Regions from separate parts of the Homo sapiens genome. Here region 2 is linked to region 1. The links are contacts of gene promoters, found by promoter capture Hi-C in human tissues and cell types (Jung and others, 2019). All regions are on one chromosome and are shown on one strand. Each heading gives the region's core, a stretch centred on a gene start or on the middle of the fragment in contact. The rest is flanking DNA. Distances are from core to core; before and after follow the strand shown. Region 1 holds the start of NFAM1 (NFAT activating protein with ITAM motif 1). Region 2 holds the start of CYP2D6 (cytochrome P450 family 2 subfamily D member 6 (gene/pseudogene)).

Region 1 (3,507 bases), core at 596-3,095:
TGCACCCCCTGGGCCAGGCTCAAGAAGGAGAGGGGAGGAAGACAGGCAGCTCAGGCAGGCAAGCGTGGAAACCAGGTGTGCAGCAGGCTAGACCCAGACTCAGAGGCGGCAGAACTCCCGGGAGTCCGAGGTACAGAGTTGGGGTGTGGGGGGCACCGTGACAGGCTGAGAGGTAGGGTCAGTGAGCTGGCACAGGGGCAGGAGCGGAGGCGGCACCAGGGCTGGAAGAGCAGGCTCCCTTGTTCCGAGGCAGTTTGGCATTCAGCTGCCTCCCAGTGCCAAGTCGTAATGAGACTTGTAGAGGCACAGACCGATGCTTTTCCAATGCTCCCCGTGTACCCTGAGGCATTGACACGAGGTCTATCACCATGGCATCAAGGTGCTTAGACAACCTGCTACTCCCAGGAGCCAGGAATAGCGTGAAGCAGCGGGTCTGCATCTCACTGTGACATATGTGAGCATGTATCACTGTGATGGATCAACAGTCAATAACACTGGGGTCCCCGCCTGCCCCCTGCGCGGTAGGAAACTTCTCCTGTTCATATGTCTTCCTCCCCTGGTGGGCGGCCCCTGCTCTTGCCAGCCTCCCAGTGCTCGTGGCATTGGTGGAAACGTCTTTAGGCTTTCACTGTTCATGTTTGGAGCAGCCCAGGGAAAAGCATGTGTGCAAAGAACTGAAATGGATCTCATGATGCCGTCACCGGGGGCTGCAGCTGGACACACCTGAGCAGGCAGTAGCAGGGTGGGAGAAGGCTCGGACATCATACCACTGGCAGTTCAAATGCCCGCCCCACAGACCTGCCCTGATCCTAGGCATGTTGTTTTGCCTCCTGGGGCCGAGGTCTTCTCTTTTGTACAACTGGGATCATCACATTTATCTGGTGAGTGAAGGGACACCTGCAGAGAAGGGAGGTAAGCGCTCAGCATGCGCTGAAACTCAGCCACCTTCCCGCCTGCGTCTTCCATGTACCAGGTGCCTCCAGCTCCACCAGCCATCACCACACCCCAGCCCCTTTCCTCTGCCACTCCAGACACGCAGGCAGATGTGTGGGTGCCAAGGGTGAGGGGCTCCCAGTCTGCTGGGGAAGGGGGTCCCGGCAGCAAACAATTCCTGTCCCCGGCTGATGCTGCTAGAAGTGAGAGCAGGGGCTGTGACCTGCAGCCAATGGGGAAGCAGTTCGAGGGTCTCACAGTTGGGAGGCCGAGTGAGCTAAGCTTTAGGGCAGCCACAGGGAGGAGCTGACGTTAGAGATGGACCAGAGAGGAGGCGTCTCCTGGGCCTCTGCAGGGGACCCACAGAGGTTCTCGCTGGGTGAATGATGGGCAGCCTGCCTTTCACCTGCCCTGGGTGTTTGGCCCTCTCTAGGGCTGGGAACATGAGGCTCCTGCCCTTCACCCCAGCCTCCCTACCACCCCTCACCAAAAAACCTACCTTTGGTAAACACATTATTAAGGGATTCTCAGAATATTTTAGAGAAGTTTGTGTGAACATGCTTGTGGTCGTTTTAAAAGTGTTTCAGAAGTGAGAGGCTAAACCAAGGCCCGAAGTCACTCATGGAAATCCCATGATCCCTCTGCACAGTTACCAGTGTCTCCTGGACGGGGCCCCTGCTGGAAAGGGGCCGAGACAGGGTGAAGCCCACCAGGGGTTGGAGTGGGGAGGCTTGGGTCCCGTCTCCAGCTCTTCTTCTGGTTGTGTGGCCTGGACCAGTCTCAGTGCCAGGTTCCTCATCTGGCGGCCACCCTGCTGGGCTGTTCCAGCTTTGCTTCTGAGCGGAAGGTCAGGGGCTGCCAGGGAGGAGCTTCGTGGGGAAAGCAAAGGGGAAGCTGTCAGCGCCGGCCGTCCCCTCCTGTGAACTAAAGAGTCGCCGCAGACAAGCAGGCCCCCAGATGGAGAACCAGCCTGTGAGGTGGCGGGCCCTGCCAGGCCTCCCACGCCCTCCTGGGCTCCCCGCAGCCCCCTGGCTCCTCCTTGGCGTGCTGCTGCTGCCCGGGACCCTGCGACTGGCAGGTAGTGTCTGTCTTCCTCCTTCTCTCTACTCTCTCGCTCCAGAACATCAGAGCGGCTTTCATCCCGCCCGGCGCAGCTAATTCCCAGGGACCTGTCTCTGGGGATTTGCTGGTTGTCGTTTGAACGCTGCAGACTTCACAGGGGAAGCCTTCTGGGACCGAGAAGATGTTTAGCTAATGCCTTGCCAAGGTGGCTTTTGAAGGGGAGGGGGACAGCGCTCTCTCCCTCGCTGCTGTGACAGCTTTGCCCCAGCAGTCTGGCCTCCTGGCCCTTAAACAAGGAGGGTGGGCGCTGTGTGGCTGGGGCCAGGGGCGGGGCAGGGGGGAGGGACAGCTCCCCATCCGAGGAACCTCACGTGGCTGCTGCGGGGGACACTGCGTTGAACCTGGCAAGTGGTGGGGCTACCCTCTGGGTTGTTGCTGGCATTGGCCAGGGAGAGCGGGGAGAGGGGGGAGGGGGGGATACCAGGGCCAGCCACAGGGCTCTGCGCCCAGAGGCACAAAACTGTCAGTCACCAGAAAGGGTCTCACCTCCCAGTTCCTGAAACACAACCAGAGGCCAAGTGTTTTAGGATGCAAGTGTGTCTTTCCACGCCAGCGGCGCTCCTTTCCTGGTTCCAGGCTTTCTTGGAAGCTGGGTGGCCGGGATCCGAGCCAAGCTGTGGGGTAGGTAGCCTCAGGGCCAGTTCATCAGGCCAGGGACGGCCCAGGAGGGTCCCATTCCAGGGCTGCCAGCACGAGGGCTCAGTGAATTCTGCCAGATTCTCTCTGCCCCTCCTTGGCCGGGCAGCAGCCAACCCTCCCTCTGGCCAAAGGGGTGGCCTCCACTGTGGAGACAGGGTGCCTTCCTTTCTATTCTCTTAGTTTATGGGGCTTTCAAGAGCTGCCCCCACCCTGTCCTGCTGCACCCCCTCTCATGACCACAAATTAGGCTTTATGGAGCCCTTAGCAGGGCACGTACTGGCCACCCTCACAGCACCCCTTGGGGCTCCTATTGTCCTCACCTGCACCATTTTAAGGACAGGGAAAAGGAGGCCCAGGGAAGCCAGTTCGTTTGCTCAAGACCTAGCCGGTAAGTAGAGGCCAGCCTCAGCCCCAGGCCAGCCTCAGCCCCAAGCTGGGCCCCTCGGCCAGTAGGCTCAGAGGATCCTCTTACTTGTAAAGAATGTTCTTCACCGGAAACTTACCCTGGGGAGGCAAAGGCTGACCTGTGTGTACCTCCCCAGGCTGCAGCCCAGAGCCCTAGGACACCATCTCCTTTAATCCTGTGCACGCCTCGCCCCACACCCCAGACAGTTGGTGCAAACACGGCCAGACCCCGGAAATGCAGCCTGTTAGTGTCAATGTGTCTCAACTACAGTCATTTTTAATTTAATTTCCCCCCAATTCCCATCCTTTCCCTTTGTGTGGTTCCTCCTCCCCAAAAGACACCCAGCACACCCTGGTAACCGAGCAGTAAGAGGTTTTATGGGGTGCTACTGGGGAAAAGCTCTTTTG
Region 2 (3,507 bases), core at 1,008-3,507, 300 kb after region 1:
GAGCCAGGACTGGTACTAGAGCAGTGTCTGGGATGAGAAGAATTTAATAAAATGGGATTAGGTCCAATGGTTGGGTTAGGGGAGGCAACCTGCTCGGGAGGATCAGCCTCAACCTATCCATGCAGCAGGGCCTCCACCTGTCCCTCTCCGTAGTCCCACACCTGGAACCCAGAGCCATCTGCCTCTTCCCAGATCATGGCCGACAGCACTCCACCAGACTGCGGCTGGAGCAGGCACAGGATTCACTTATTGAGGGCTGTGGCCTGGCACAGATCATAGCCTATACCCAGGGACAGTTGTGTCACTTCTGCCACCACCACATCCGCCTTCTGCAGCCACATCAAGTACCACTCATGGATGAGCCCGTCACCCCCAGCGGACTTATCAACCCCGCGTCCAGCTCCACAGCCGCCACGTGCTCGGTGAGCACTGGCTCCAAGCATGGCAGCTGCCATACAATCCACCTGTAGAGGGCCCGGTCCTCCTGTCCTCAGTGGATGATCCCGTAGAAGTCCAGAGCTCGGCAGCTGCCCTCCCACAAAAGACAGGATTTTGAAAGCAGCAAGAGAGAAGAGACGTATCAGGTAGTCACAGTGGCTCAGGCCTGTAATCCCAGCACTTTGGGAGGCCCAGGTGGGAGGATCGCTTCACCCCAGGAATTCAAGACCAGCCTGGACAACTTGGAAGAACCCGGTCTCTACAAAAAATACAAAATTAGCTGGGATTGGGTGCGGTGGCTCATGCCTATAATCCCAGCACTTTGGGAGCCTGAGGTGGGTGGATCACCTGAAGTCAGGAGTTCAAGACTAGCCTGGCCAACATGGTGAAACCCTATCTCTACTGAAAATACAAAAAGCTAGACGTGGTGGCACACACCTGTAATCCCAGCTACTTAGGAGGCTGAGGCAGGAGAATTGCTTGAAGCCTAGAGGTGAAGGTTGTAGTGAGCCGAGATTGCATCATTGCACAATGGAGGGGAGCCACCAGCCTGGGCAACAAGAGGAAATCTCCGTCTCCAAAAAAAAAAAAAAAAAAAAAAGAATTAGGCTGGGTGGTGCCTGTAGTCCCAGCTACTTGGGAGGCAGGGGGTCCACTTGATGTCGAGACTGCAGTGAGCCATGATCCTGCCACTGCACTCCGGCCTGGGCAACAGAGTGAGACCCTGTCTAAAGAAAAAAAAAATAAAGCAACATATCCTGAACAAAGGATCCTCCATAACGTTCCCACCAGATTTCTAATCAGAAACATGGAGGCCAGAAAGCAGTGGAGGAGGACGACCCTCAGGCAGCCCGGGAGGATGTTGTCACAGGCTGGGGCAAGGGCCTTCCGGCTACCAACTGGGAGCTCTGGGAACAGCCCTGTTGCAAACAAGAAGCCATAGCCCGGCCAGAGCCCAGGAATGTGGGCTGGGCTGGGAGCAGCCTCTGGACAGGAGTGGTCCCATCCAGGAAACCTCCGGCATGGCTGGGAAGTGGGGTACTTGGTGCCGGGTCTGTATGTGTGTGTGACTGGTGTGTGTGAGAGAGAATGTGTGCCCTAAGTGTCAGTGTGAGTCTGTGTATGTGTGAATATTGTCTTTGTGTGGGTGATTTTCTGCGTGTGTAATCGTGTCCCTGCAAGTGTGAACAAGTGGACAAGTGTCTGGGAGTGGACAAGAGATCTGTGCACCATCAGGTGTGTGCATAGCGTCTGTGCATGTCAAGAGTGCAAGGTGAAGTGAAGGGACCAGGCCCATGATGCCACTCATCATCAGGAGCTCTAAGGCCCCAGGTAAGTGCCAGTGACAGATAAGGGTGCTGAAGGTCACTCTGGAGTGGGCAGGTGGGGGTAGGGAAAGGGCAAGGCCATGTTCTGGAGGAGGGGTTGTGACTACATTAGGGTGTATGAGCCTAGCTGGGAGGTGGATGGCCGGGTCCACTGAAACCCTGGTTATCCCAGAAGGCTTTGCAGGCTTCAGGAGCTTGGAGTGGGGAGAGGGGGTGACTTCTCCGACCAGGCCCCTCCACCGGCCTACCCTGGGTAAGGGCCTGGAGCAGGAAGCAGGGGCAAGAACCTCTGGAGCAGCCCATACCCGCCCTGGCCTGACTCTGCCACTGGCAGCACAGTCAACACAGCAGGTTCACTCACAGCAGAGGGCAAAGGCCATCATCAGCTCCCTTTATAAGGGAAGGGTCACGCGCTCGGTGTGCTGAGAGTGTCCTGCCTGGTCCTCTGTGCCTGGTGGGGTGGGGGTGCCAGGTGTGTCCAGAGGAGCCCATTTGGTAGTGAGGCAGGTATGGGGCTAGAAGCACTGGTGCCCCTGGCCGTGATAGTGGCCATCTTCCTGCTCCTGGTGGACCTGATGCACCGGCGCCAACGCTGGGCTGCACGCTACCCACCAGGCCCCCTGCCACTGCCCGGGCTGGGCAACCTGCTGCATGTGGACTTCCAGAACACACCATACTGCTTCGACCAGGTGAGGGAGGAGGTCCTGGAGGGCGGCAGAGGTGCTGAGGCTCCCCTACCAGAAGCAAACATGGATGGTGGGTGAAACCACAGGCTGGACCAGAAGCCAGGCTGAGAAGGGGAAGCAGGTTTGGGGGACGTCCTGGAGAAGGGCATTTATACATGGCATGAAGGACTGGATTTTCCAAAGGCCAAGGAAGAGTAGGGCAAGGGCCTGGAGGTGGAGCTGGACTTGGCAGTGGGCATGCAAGCCCATTGGGCAACATATGTTATGGAGTACAAAGTCCCTTCTGCTGACACCAGAAGGAAAGGCCTTGGGAATGGAAGATGAGTTAGTCCTGAGTGCCGTTTAAATCACGAAATCGAGGATGAAGGGGGTGCAGTGACCCGGTTCAAACCTTTTGCACTGTGGGTCCTCGGGCCTCACTGCTCACCGGCATGGACCATCATCTGGGAATGGGATGCTAACTGGGGCCTCTCGGCAATTTTGGTGACTCTTGCAAGGTCATACCTGGGTGACGCATCCAAACTGAGTTCCTCCATCACAGAAGGTGTGACCCCCACCCCCGCCCCACGATCAGGAGGCTGGGTCTCCTCCTTCCACCTGCTCACTCCTGGTAGCCCCGGGGGTCGTCCAAGGTTCAAATAGGACTAGGACCTGTAGTCTGGGGTGATCCTGGCTTGACAAGAGGCCCTGACCCTCCCTCTGCAGTTGCGGCGCCGCTTCGGGGACGTGTTCAGCCTGCAGCTGGCCTGGACGCCGGTGGTCGTGCTCAATGGGCTGGCGGCCGTGCGCGAGGCGCTGGTGACCCACGGCGAGGACACCGCCGACCGCCCGCCTGTGCCCATCACCCAGATCCTGGGTTTCGGGCCGCGTTCCCAAGGCAAGCAGCGGTGGGGACAGAGACAGATTTCCGTGGGACCCGGGTGGGTGATGACCGTAGTCCGAGCTGGGCAGAGAGGGCGCGGGGTCGTGGACATGAAACAGGCCAGCGAGTGGGGACAGCGGGCCAAGAAACCACCTGCACTAGGGAGGTGTGAGCATGGGGACGAGGGCGGGGC

What was found. The method cuts DNA at HindIII sites, captures the fragments that hold promoters and counts their contacts. A contact is called where the count stands out against the background at its distance.
Region 2: the fragment with the promoter of CYP2D6 here is called in contact with the fragment with the promoter of NFAM1 in region 1 in 10 of the 25 tissues and cell types used here (H1 embryonic stem cells, IMR-90 fibroblasts, adrenal gland and 7 more).

Annotation. Positions count from the first base shown.
Region 1 is chr22:42,430,741-42,434,247 of GRCh38, reverse strand. NFAM1 (NFAT activating protein with ITAM motif 1) reads left to right here and starts at 1,845. Exons shown (of 6, transcript NM_145912.8): 1 at 1,845-2,011. The coding sequence starts at 1,891. The HindIII fragment of the contact is 19,415 bases long and covers 205-3,507 here.
Region 2 is chr22:42,129,560-42,133,066 of GRCh38, reverse strand. It overlaps CYP2D6 (cytochrome P450 family 2 subfamily D member 6 (gene/pseudogene)), which reads left to right and starts at 2,257. Exons shown (of 9, transcript NM_000106.6): 1 at 2,257-2,455; 2 at 3,158-3,329. The coding sequence starts at 2,276. RefSeq lists a cis regulatory region at 961-972 and promoters at 666-2,198, 1,785-2,251. The HindIII fragment of the contact is 22,528 bases long and covers 1-3,507 here.